4 separate regions of the Homo sapiens genome follow, and regions 2, 3 and 4 are each linked to region 1. The links are contacts of gene promoters, found by promoter capture Hi-C in human tissues and cell types (Jung and others, 2019). All regions are on one chromosome and are shown on one strand. Each heading gives the region's core, a stretch centred on a gene start or on the middle of the fragment in contact. The rest is flanking DNA. Distances are from core to core; before and after follow the strand shown. Region 1 holds the start of NR0B2 (nuclear receptor subfamily 0 group B member 2). Region 2 overlaps WDTC1 (WD and tetratricopeptide repeats 1). Region 3 holds the start of DHDDS (dehydrodolichyl diphosphate synthase subunit). Region 4 has its middle 53 kb from the start of MIR1976.

Region 1 (2,920 bases), core at 386-2,885:
ACTGTCACTTATTAGCTGGGTGACCTTGGGCAAGTCACTTAATCTCTGGGCTTCAGTTTCTTTATCTGTAAAACGGGAATAATAATATTAATAGGACCTGTCTCCTAGGCTTTTATGAGATTTAAATGAACTAGTATATGTAAAACCCTTAGAATAGGGCCTAACATATGGTAAGTGTGATATGAGTATTTGCTACTATTATTACAATTAATTACTACGATTTATGCGTGCCACAAGGGACTCCTGGGGAACTCTCATCTCAGATGCTCTCCAGATTACAAACAGCACTGTCTCCATCTGCCGCTCTCCTGGCCGAATTCCATAAAGACTCCTTTCCTGTCCTCCCTACGCCCCTTTCAGTCATCTCTTCTATGTGATCTTTCTGAACCCACAGAGGAGTTTTAGCTCTAGAGCTTCACCATGCAGCCTTCCTTTGAGGATGTGACTGAGACACAGCTGTGTCTGCCCACCCCACCTCCCCACAGCCTTCTGTAAAGGTCAGAGCAAATTTCTCAGGCAGAGTGGCAAGGGCCAGTCTCTGGAGTGAATAGACCTGAGTTGCCATCCTGGTCTGTCCCTACCTGGCTGTGTTACCTTTAGCTAGTCACTTAGCTTCTCTGTGCCTCTTCTGTGAGATGGCTATTTGATGAAAATGAGGACTGGCCAAGCACGGTGGCTCACGCCTGTAATCCCAGCACTTTGGGAGGCCAAGGTGGGTGGATCACCTGAGGGGTTAGGAGTTCAAGACCAGCTTGATCAACATGGTGAAAGCCCATCTCTACTAAAAAGTACAAAAATTAGCCGGGAGTGGTGGCGGCCATCTGTAATCCCAGCTACTCGGGAGGCTGAGGCAGAGAAAATTGCTTGAACCCAGGAGGCAGAGGTTGCAGTGAGCCAAGATCGCACCACTGCACTCCAGACTGGGTGACAGAGTGAGACTCTGTCTCAGAAAAATAAAAAGAAAATGAGGACCCAATGAGATAACAGATATCAAACCCTTAGAAGCTACCTTCCCTGGCTGGCCCCTGCTTCAGCCTTGCCCCCCACCCAGGAGTGTCTGGGAGCTCACCGGGGTTGAAGAGGATGGTCCCTTTCAGGCAGGCATATTCCTTGGGGCTAAGCTCCAGGCTCCAGAAGGACTCCAGACAGCATTGAAGCCACTGCACCGCAGCCAGGGAGGGCTGGGGTCTGTCTGGCAGTTGGCCACTGCCTCCACTGCTGCTGGGCTCCTCCAGCAGAATCTTCTTGAGTATGCTGGGCACCGGGGCCTCAGCCACCTCAAAGGTCACAGCATCTTGGGCCAACCCAAGCAGGAAGAGGGGGCCCCAGCAACCCTGCAGCAGCCGCCGCTGGTCCTGGGGAGGCAGCTGCCAGAAGGATGGCAGGTTCCTGAGGAAGGCCACTGTCTTGGCCAGAACATCCAAGGCCTCCCGGCAGGTGCGATGAGGTGCACATAGCTGGACGGGCCGGTGCTGCCTACATAGGCAGCGGCTACGGGGTCGGGGGACAGCCTTGAGGCTGGAGCTCAGAAGTGCGTAGAGAATGGCGGGGCGGCTTGCAGCTCCCTGGCATGGGCAGGCCCCTGGTTGGCTGGTGCTCATGGTTAGGGATCTGCTCTCACTTCCAGCTCTCTGGCTCTGTGTTCTGCGCTGTGGGTGCTATTTATATTCCCAGTGAGTGGAACGGGGGGAATGGCCCAACAACCTTGACTCCAGAAGTCATGTTCATTGAAAAAAACACACAGACATTGCCCCTGGCAGGAATGGTGGGGAAGTGGTGGGGGAGGGGGCATTGGGAACCCCACGTGGCACTGATATCACCTCAGTCAATGAAGTGGCCGGTGCAGGGCACAGGGCCACCTGCCGCTCACTCAGCTGCCCCTTATCAGATGACTCAAGTGGATAAACAAGGTCATTAACTCAGGCTGTACCAGGGCACCAAGGCCCCAGGTGCACAATCAGCAGGTGTCCCCATTGGTGCCCGCTCTTGTGTGCACAAAAGACTAGGGCTTTTGCTAAGCCAGGAAGCCAGCCCCAGAGCTGGGTGGGCCTTGAATGCAAGGCCCAACCTGGAAGTGCCTTATCACTAGCTTGTTTGCCTAACCTTGGGGCCCTGCTTCTGTTGTCAGCCAGAAGCAGGCTACAGGGAAGGGAGCCAGGACCCTGGGGGCTGGGAGGACTTTGCCCACTGTCCAATCTAGGAGGCCTCCTCCTCTGATTCCAGTTCTGGGCCCCCTGCAGGAATAAGGTCCTTCAGAATCCTTATCCCCAGCCTGATTCCTACCACTCCTGAAAGGCCAGGTCTGCTGAGAAGAACTCACAGAATTATAATAAAAGATAGTTGCCAGCCGGGCACGGTGGCTCATGCCTGTAATCCCAGCACTTTGGGAGGCTGAGGAAGGGGGATCATTTGAGGTCAGGAGTTCAAGACCAGCCTGGCCAACATGGCAAAATCCCGTCTCTACTAAAAATACAAAAATTAGCCGGGCATGGTGGCATGTGCCTGTAGTCCCAGCTACTCTAGAGGCTAAGGCAAAAGAATCACTCGAAACTGGGAGGCAGAGGTTACAGTGAGCTGAGATCATGCCACTGCTCTCCAGCCTGGGCAACAGAGCAAGATCCTGTCTCAAAAAAATATATATGTATATGTATATGTATATGTATATGTATATGTATATTTATATGTATATGTGTATATATATATACACATACATACATACATATATATATATATATATGTATATATATGGTTGCCATTCTCTAAGCACTTATTATGTGTCAGGCACTTCCCACTCTAATATTGGCAGCCTCTTCCTAAGGCTAGATTCTTACTTTATGAGACTAAAAAAGCTAAAGTGACTTGCCCAAGGTCATCCCACCAGGAAGACAAAGCCCAGATCTTGCCTGACTCCAAAGTCCTT
Region 2 (2,959 bases), core at 152-2,651, 360 kb after region 1:
TTTAAATTAATGAGGATTAATTTAAGCCGTTCTAGTATATAAGACCCAATCAGTTTTCCACTTTCCTTGGACATTTTTGCTGAGCATTCCACATCCCTCTTTAGTTACATGTGCCAGCTCATCTCATGAGTTTTATTGTCACAACTGACAAGAACCAAATATCCTGGGATTCCAGCCATGGCCTGCAGTCCTCACTTTTTTGGGGAGTTGCTTGCTTTCATTTTGTATGTATTACCAGGGATCTCCCAAGATCACCTTGGAAGTTGTGATCACACTTTGATTCCTGCTATTTCATTCACTTGTGGGATTTCTTGGCACCGTATTAGACACATGGTAGAGAGAAGAAGAAAGGAATCTCACTTTACAAATCAGAGTAAAACTCAGCATTTCTAAGGTCAGATAAGTGGTAGAAATAAGATTTAAAAGATTTATATCAGGCTTATCTGGCTGCAGAGTTCATATCCTTTCCACCTCAACCATATGTCTGTTTTAAAAATGGCTTAATAGATAGTTCCTGGCTTGGTGGATTTATTCTCTTGCCTTATTAGTTTTCTTCATATTATCCTTAAACAATTGCAAACATTATGTATCTATCTCACCTTTACAATCTGGCCTGCTTGCTTTTTCCATTTTGTTTCTTATATTATTTTAGCATACATTCAAATTATGAATTTATGGAAACAAGTCATATGAAACTAGATTGATTTCCTTTGTGAATAGCTTTGGTAGACCAGAGCAGTTCCATGGGCATAGTGTAACCTTATTCTAACAAAGACTTGTCAGAGCTTTTTAAGGTAATACCATTTTAGAGAAGTAAACTAGATACCAAGTTCATTAAACAGTCATGTTTAAAGAAAAAGATGCCAGCCTGGCCAACATGGTGAAACCCCTTCTCTACTAAAAATACGAAAAATTAGCCAAGCATGATGGCAGGCACCTGTAATCCCAGCACTTGGGAGGCTGAGGCAGGAGAATTGCTTGAACCCAGGAGGCGGAGGTTGCAGTGAGCCGAGATTGCACCACTGCACTCTAACCTGGGCGACAGAGTGAGACTCTGTCTCAAAAAAAAAAAAAAAATAAAGAAAAAGATGGAGCGGGGATCTGACTTTGTGAGAGATTTCCTTTCGTGAGGACTGTCCTTTAAATCCAGATCAGCAATTTGTGGCCAGTGGGCCAAATCCAGAATGTCGCCTGTTTGCTTGTTTGTTATTTTATTTAATTGAGTGGTTTTGACTATTCACAAACTATACTCACAAAGTTTTGCAACCATCCCTGCTATCTAATTCCAGGATGTTTTCATCACCCCAAAAAGGAACCTCTTACCCATCTTAGCAGTCACTTCCTTCTCCCATACTGGCCCTACCCCAGAAACCACTAATCTATTTTCTGTTGCAATGGATTTTCCTATTCTGAACATTTCACGTAAATGAAATTATAAAGTGTGTGGCTTTTTAGCATAATGCTTTTAAGATTCATCTATGTTATAGTATGAATCTGTACTTCTCTTTTTTGCGGCCAAATAGCATTCCATCATTTGGATGTACCACATTCTGTCTATCCATTCATCAGTTGGTGGAACATGTGGTTGTTTCTATTTTTTGGCTATTATAAATAATGCTGCTATGAACCTTCATGTACAAGTTTTTGTGTGGACATGTTTTCTTCACTTTTCTTGGTATATACCGAAGGGTGGAATTGCTGGGTCATATGGTAACTCAGTGTTTAACTTTTTTGAGGAACTGCCAAACTGTTTTCCAAAGTGGTACCACCATTTTACATTCCCACCAGAAATGTGTGAGGGTTCCAATTTGTCTGCATCCTTGCCAACACTTCTTATTATCAATATTTTTTATTATAGGCCAGGCGCGGTGACTTATGCCTATAATCCCACACTTTGGGAGGCCGAAGCAGGCAGATCACAAGGTCAGGAGATTGAGACCATGCTGGCTAACACAGTGAAACCCCATCTCTACTAAAAATACAAAACTTAGCCAGGTGTGGTGGCACACACCTGTAGTCCCAGCTACTTGGGAGGCTGAGGCAGGAGAATTGCTTGAACCCAGGAGGAGGAGATTGCAGTGAGCCGAGATTGCGCCACTGCACTCCAGCCTGGGTGACAGAGCAAGACTTCGTCTCGAAAAAAAAAAAGAAAAGAAAAAAAAATTTTTTTTTTATTATAGCCCTCCTGGTGGGTGTGAAGTGGTATCTCATTGTGGTTTTGATTTTCATTTCCCTAATGACTAATGATGTTGAGCATGTTTTCATGTGCTTGTTGTCATATTTGTGTATTTTCTTTGGAGAAATGTCTGTTGAGATGCTTCACTCATTTTTTAATTGGGTTGTCCTTTTTTATTGTTGAGTTATAAGATATGTATGATTTGAAATTTTGTTTCTTTTCCTTTGTGTGTTGTCTTTTCATTTTTAAATGGTGACTTTGCATAAAAGTTTTAATTTTAATGAAATTCAATTTATGTTTTATTTTTTTTTTTTAATTGATATGGGATCTGTCTCTGTAACCCTCACTGGAGTGCAGTGGCACAGTCATGGCTTACTGCAGCCTTACCCTCCCAGGCTCAAGCAATCCTCCCATCTCACCCTCTTGAGTAGCTGGGACTGCAGGCGCACACCACCATGCCCAACTAAACTTTTTTTCTTTTGTTGCTGGTGCTTTTGGTGTTGTGTCTTAAAAAACATTGCCTAATCCAAGGTCATGAATATATACACCTGTGTTTTCTTCTAAGAGTTTTGTAGTTTTAGATTTTATATGTAGGTCTTTGATCCATTTGAATTAATTTTTATGTATGGTGTGAGGTAAGGATCCAACTTCATTCTTTTACATGTGGACATCCACTTGTCCTGGCACCATGTGCTAAAAAGACTATTCTTTCCTTCTACTTAATTGCTTGACACTCTTTTTTTTTTAAGAGACGGAGTCTGGCTATGTTGCACAGGCTGGTCT
Region 3 (3,154 bases), core at 472-2,971, 480 kb before region 1:
CATCTCTAGGGCTTTCTTTCATCATGTTGCTGTGTTAAAATAACCCCTTTCATTAGAAAGAGTGGAAGACATAATCAATTAGAAAGTGCCAATAAAACATCTCTTCCTTGCCTCATTTCTTTAATAATATTGTAAAATGAAATGCGACAAAAAGGTTCTTTGACAATTGTGAATTTTTATTCCACTCAAAACATAATACTACATAAAGTTGTATTATGCTTTGCAAGAAATACTGGTTGTGGCCGGGCGCGGTGGCTCACGCCTGTAATTCCAGCACTTTGGAAGGTCTAGGCAGGCAGATAACGAGGTCAAGAGATCAAAACCATCCTGGCCAAAATGGTGAAACCCTGTCTCTACTAAAAATACAAAAATTAGCCAGGCTTGGTGGCACGCGCCTGTAGTCCCAGCTACTCAGGAGGATGAAGCAGGAGAAACGCTTGAACCCGGGAGGCGGAGGCTGCAGTGAGCCGAGATCGCGCCACTGCACTCCAGCCTGGGCGACATAGCCAGACTCCGTCTCTAAATAAATAAATAAATAAATAAATAAATAAAAATAATACTGGTTGTATAAGAATCTGTAAAGAATTTTTTCCTCCTCTTTCAATTTTGAGAAAATTGAACTACAAATTTGTTTTGTGAGCCTAGAATTCTTGCAACCCTTTTTTTCGTAAAGGTTCAGTAGAGCTAATGCCCTTAACTTTTCTACCAGGGTTAATTTCTGTTATTTTCATTTATGTACTGCCAAAGCGAGCACCTTTCTGTTATTTTAGAAGTCATGCTTTTTTTTTTTTTCTTTTTTCAGACAGAGTTTCGCTCCTGTTGCCCAGGCTGGAGTGCAGTGGCCTGATCTTGGCTCACCGCAACCTCCGCCTCCCGGGTTCAAGCGATTCTCTTGCCTCACCCTCCCGAGTAACTGGGATAACAGGCGCCCGCCACCACGCCCGGCTCATTTTCTGTATTTTTAGTACAGACGGGGTTTCACGATGTTGGTCAGGCTGGTCTCAAACTCCTGACCTCAGGTGATCCGTTCGCCTCGGCCTCCCAAAGTGCTGGGATTACAGGCGTGAGCCACCGCGCCTGGCCTAGAAGTCATTCTTATGGCAGAAATCTTTCTGGCCTTACCCCTTCTCTTGAGTTCGTTGGGATAGGTCTTGGGAATCCACAAATCCTAAAATATGCGTGCCTTAAGTCGGCACAAAATAGATTAATATTCTGCGCGTCTGTAAGATTGGCTGCGGCTAGAAACTCCTTCCCAGACGATTAAATCCACTAAATAAAATACGAAACGGTAACGAGATAATTTTTAAGAGTATGCACCAGTGCTCTAATGAAGCCCGGTTCTGCGGCATTCCAAGGTAAGGACGCTGCCTTACCCAGTCTCTCAGCAGTCCTAAGCTGCCTTCGACGGCCGAGAAGCGCCTCGATTCTTGCCCCTGGCTCATTTCCCTGGCGCGTTTTCCAGACGCCTCCGCTCCCAACGCTGGGCTCAACCCTGTCTTCCCCAGCTGGTCTCCCAGCACGTGGCCTGGAGCCCAGCCTCCCGCCCCGCTCGGTCACGTGAGCCTGGCTCTCACCCGCGCCGGCTTCCACACCCCGCGGGACTGAGAACCGCCCTCCCACTAGCTCGCAGGCGCAGGCGCAGGGCAGGGTCCCCTCAGTTTGGGTGACGGAAGGGGCGTGTCGCAGCGCCCAAAGATGACGTGTTCTGCCAGCGCCACGTCATGAGGAAGTGCCGGCCCACTGAAGCCGTGGGGACGCGCCCAGCGGAGCTAATCAGGTGCCACTGAACTGAAGGGGTGAACTAGAGGAGAAGAGGGTGACTGGGCGGGGAGCAGCTGCGGGAGAAGCAAAGGGACGACTGAGGGAATAATCAGGAGACCACTGAGGCGTGAAGTACTAGGCGTGCGATAACTGAAGGAGTTAGTAACTGGGAGCACAGAGTTGGAAACAGCTTAGGGGAAGATGGAGAAGGAAGAAACGGGGAATGATCAAGATGTGGGCACCATGATGTGGCAGGAAACCGACTTAGATGTTCAGAAGAAGTCAGTGCAGATACGGAGGAAATGGGAATGGGAAGAAGTCTGCAAAGCCAGGAGAACCGAGGAAAGGCTTTTGCCTCCAGAGGTCACATTGCGTTATAAAACTCTGGGTGGTAAAAGATTATAGGCTTAGACCAGTGTCTTTGGATTCTAATGCTGGCTGCTCTCCATAGTCCATCTGATTCCCCAGAAGTCAGTTATAGCTCTTCGCAAACCTTGGTGACTTCTTATTTTCTTTCTTGTTTATCCAAGATTACCTGGCTGGTGTTTGCTTGTTCTGGAGTGATCTTCTGACTGGAAAAGAACTATGTCATGGATCAAGGAAGGAGAGCTGTCACTTTGGGAGCGGTTCTGTGCCAACATCATAAAGGTGAGCAATGGCCCAGAGCACCGGTTGGCCTTCTGGTCAGTTGGATAATCTTATATAAAAACCTGTTATTAAAGTTGATGATGTTAAGTGCAATTCATGATGTTAAGTGGAATTTAGCAAGGAAACCAAAGAGTCTTAGAATGGTAACTTCCAGGTCTACATTTCTGGTAGACTTTTGTCCTAACTCTGATATTTTCTGGAAGCCCAGGCCTCTTAATGTCACTGGGCAGCCTAGACTGCTAAGTATTCTTTATAGAGAACTGAAATTTGTTTCCCTGGAACATTGATCCATTGTTCCATGTACTGTCTTCTTGATTTAAATAGGTTAATCTTTGATATATTCTTTGATCTGTCAGTAGAGCTGGGCCCGGTCACTCACGCCTGTAATCCCAGCAATTTGGGAGGCTGAGGTGGGCAGATTGTTTGAGCTCAGGAGTTGAGACCAGCCTGGGCAACATGGCAAAACCCCGATTCTCCAAAAAATTAAAAAAATAGCAGGGCTTGGTGGTGTGCACCTGTAGTCCCAGCTACTCGGAAGGCTGAAGTGGGAGAATTTCTTGAGCCCAGGTCAAAGCTGCAGTGAGTCATGATTGTGCCACCACACTCCAGCCTGGGTGACAGAACGGGACTGTCTCAAAAAAAAGAGTTCAGAACAAGACTCTGTCTCAAAAAAAAAAAAAAAAAAAGAGTTTGGGCTCTAGACGCAGACAAACATGGGTGAAATTCCTGTTCTTTTTTTTATTTT
Region 4 (2,777 bases), core at 41-2,540, 310 kb before region 1:
GCAGTGTTAAGGGAGATAGAAATTATGGTTTGAGCAGAGTCTTTTTTTTTTTTTTTTTTTTGAGATGGAGTCTCACTCTCTTGCCAGGCTGGAGGGCAATGGTGTGATCTCAGCTCAATGCAACCTCCGACTCCCTGGTTCAAGCAATTCTCCTGCCTCAGCCTCCTGAGTAGCTGGGATTACAGGCACGCGCCACCATGCCCAGCTAATTTTTTGTATTTTTAGTACAGATGGGGTTTCACCATGTTGTCCAGGATGGTCTCGATCTCCTGACCTTGTGATCTGCCCGCCTCGGCCTCCCAAAGTGTTGGGATTACAGGTGTGAGCCACCGCGCCCGGCTGGACAGAGTTTTTTTAGTTTACAAAGGGTAGACAGAAAGAACTCACTGATGAGGTGATTTGAGCTGAGACATAAAAGAAGAGGGAGAACAAGCCATATAAATATGAGGGGGAGGAGCTTGCCAGGCAGAGGGCACAGCAAATGCACAGGTCCTGACACAGGAGTTTCCTTGTTGAAGGAGACCAATTGTAGCTAAATAGAATAAGCCAAGGGAAAGATGTAAGAGAGGTCAGGAAAGTGGGAGTGGAGGGGACAGACTTGTAAGGCCTTGTAAATCATTGTGGGGTCTTTGTTTATTTTGTTTTGTTTTGTTTTAGACAGACTCTCGCTCTTTTGCCCAGGCTGGCTGAAGTGCAGTGGCACAGTCTTGGCTCATTGCAACCTCCGCCTCCCAGGTTCAAGCGATTCTCCTGCCTCAGCCTCCCAAGTAGCTGGGATTACAGGTGTGCACCACCACACTCAGCTAACTTTTATATTTTTAGTAGAGACAGGGTTTCACCATGTTGGCCAGGCTGGTCTTGAACTCCTGGGCTCAAGTGATCTGCCCGCCTTTGCCTCCCAAAGTGCTGGGATTACAGGTGTGAGCCACTGTGCTCGACCTCTCTGTTTTTTATTCTGAGTGAGATGAGAAGCCACTGGAGGGTTTTTAGTAGGGGAAAGACTTATGTTTTATGATATGACATAAAATTATTTAATTTTTTTACAACGGGGTCACCCAGGCTGGAGTGTAGTGGCGCAGTCATAGCTCACTGCAGCCTTGAACTCCTGGGCTCAAGTGATCCTCCTGCCTCAGTCTCCTAAGTAGTTAGGACTACAGGTGTGAACCACTATGCCAGCTAATTTTAAAATTTTTTTGAAGAGATCGGGTTTCACTATGTTGCCCAGGCTGGTCTCAAACTCCTGGCCTCAGGTGATCCTCCTGTCTTGGCCTCCCAAAACACTGGGGTTACAGGCACAGGCCACCACACTCAGCCTCTAAAAAAATTTATGGGTACATAATAGTTGTAAATATGATTTATGTTTTTAAAGGATTATTATGGCTGCTGTGTAGAAAATAGAAGGTAGGAGTGGAAGAGCTGAAGCAGGGAGACCAGTTAGGAGGCAATTGCAGGAATCAAAGCAAGAAATAATGGTGGCTTGGGTCAGGGTGATAGCAGTGCAGGTGGTGACAAGTGGTCATATTTTGGACGTAGAGGTGCCAGGATTTGCTGATGGATATGATGAGGAATATAAGAGAAATAGAGAGGAGTCAAGAATATTGTGAAGCTTTTGGCCCAAGCAAGTATTAGATAATAGTGGAAAGAACAGAGTCCTTGAATCAGAGGCTGTGAGAGACTAAATCTCAATTCCACGGTTTATGGATTGTGTAATCTTGGGCAAGTCACCGAACCTCTCTGAGCATCAGTTTCTTCATCAGTAAGAAACCTTTTGAAATATTGTGGCTCTAGGATCTTCTCAATTCTCTCTTTGTTAACTTACCATTCTCTAATGGCTTCTCACTGTATTTAGAATAAAATACAAACTCCTTTGAGGTCCAAGAAAGCCCTGTATGGACTGGCCTCACCTACCTCTCCAACCTGTCAGCTACATTGAGCTTCTTTTTGTGTTCGTCTGGTAACAAATAGAACCTGGTAACCCAACCCCTGCCCTCCCCTCCCCTCTCCTCTCTTTCTTTCTTTCTTTCTTTCTTTTTTTTTTTTTTTTTTTTTGACAGGGTCTTGCTCCATCACCGAGGCTGAAGTGCAGAAGTGAGATCAGAGATCATGTCACAGCTCACTGCAGCCTTGACCTCCCAGGTTCAAGTGATCCTCCCACTTCAGCCTCCTGAATTGCCGGGACTATAGGCACATGCCACCACACTCAACTAATTAAAAAAAAAAAATTGTAGGCTGGGCACAGTGGTTCATGCCTGTAATCCCAGCACTTCGGGAGGACGAGGAAAGCAGATCACTTGAGGCCAGGAGTTTGAGACCAGCCTGGCCAACATAGTGAAACCCCGTCTCTACTTAAAATACAAAAAATTAGCCAGGTGTGGCAGCTCGCGCCAATAGTTCCAGCTACTCTGGGGCTAAGGCGGGAGAATCGCTTGAACCCAAGAGGCAGAGGCTGCAGTGAGCCGAGATCATGCCACAGAAGTCCAGTCTGAGAGACAGAGCAAGACCCCTCTCAAAAAAAAAAAAAAAAAAAAAAAAAAATATATATATATATATATATATATTTGTAGACACTGGGGGGTCTCCTTATGTTGCCCATTTGAATTCCTGGGCTCAAGTAATCCTCCCACCTTGGCCCCACAAAGTGCTGGGATTACAGGCATGAGCCACTGCACCCGGCCAGAATTTGATAACTTTCCATCTTTTTTTTTTTTTATTTTCAAGAGGGAGTTTCGCTCTTGTTGTCCAGGCTGGAGTATAATGGTGCGATCTCGGCTCACTGC

The links. The method cuts DNA at HindIII sites, captures the fragments that hold promoters and counts their contacts. A contact is called where the count stands out against the background at its distance.
Region 2: a fragment that was not itself captured here is called in contact with the fragment with the promoter of NR0B2 in region 1 in 1 of the 25 tissues and cell types used here (liver).
Region 3: a contact is called between the fragment with the promoter of DHDDS here and the fragment with the promoter of NR0B2 in region 1, in 1 of the 25 tissues and cell types used here (aorta).
Region 4: a fragment that was not itself captured here is called in contact with the fragment with the promoter of NR0B2 in region 1 in 2 of the 25 tissues and cell types used here (IMR-90 fibroblasts and liver).

What each region holds. Positions count from the first base shown.
Region 1 is chr1:26,912,340-26,915,259 of GRCh38, forward strand. NR0B2 (nuclear receptor subfamily 0 group B member 2) reads right to left here and starts at 1,636. Exons shown (of 2, transcript NM_021969.3): 1 at 1,070-1,636. The coding sequence starts at 1,601. It also overlaps a transcript of NUDC not described here. The HindIII fragment of the contact is 33,061 bases long and covers 1-2,920 here.
Region 2 is chr1:27,274,557-27,277,515 of GRCh38, forward strand. The region is part of intron 3 of WDTC1 (WD and tetratricopeptide repeats 1); the gene reads left to right. Among named protein-coding and RNA genes, the nearest start is that of WDTC1, 41 kb to the left of the region's middle. The HindIII fragment of the contact is 7,092 bases long and covers 1-2,959 here.
Region 3 is chr1:26,430,600-26,433,753 of GRCh38, forward strand. DHDDS (dehydrodolichyl diphosphate synthase subunit) reads left to right here and starts at 1,722. Exons shown (of 9, transcript NM_205861.3): 1 at 1,722-1,777; 2 at 2,292-2,409. The coding sequence starts at 2,347. It overlaps LOC124903883 (a long non-coding RNA gene), which reads right to left and starts at 1,638. Exons shown (of 2, transcript XR_007065557.1): 1 at 1,374-1,638; 2 at 156-519. RefSeq lists enhancers at 941-1,477, 1,262-1,321, 1,392-1,451, 1,478-2,014, 1,552-2,041. The HindIII fragment of the contact is 9,291 bases long and covers 1-3,154 here.
Region 4 is chr1:26,605,671-26,608,447 of GRCh38, forward strand. No RefSeq gene overlaps it. Among named protein-coding and RNA genes, the nearest start is that of MIR1976, 53 kb to the left of the region's middle. The HindIII fragment of the contact is 7,565 bases long and covers 1-2,777 here.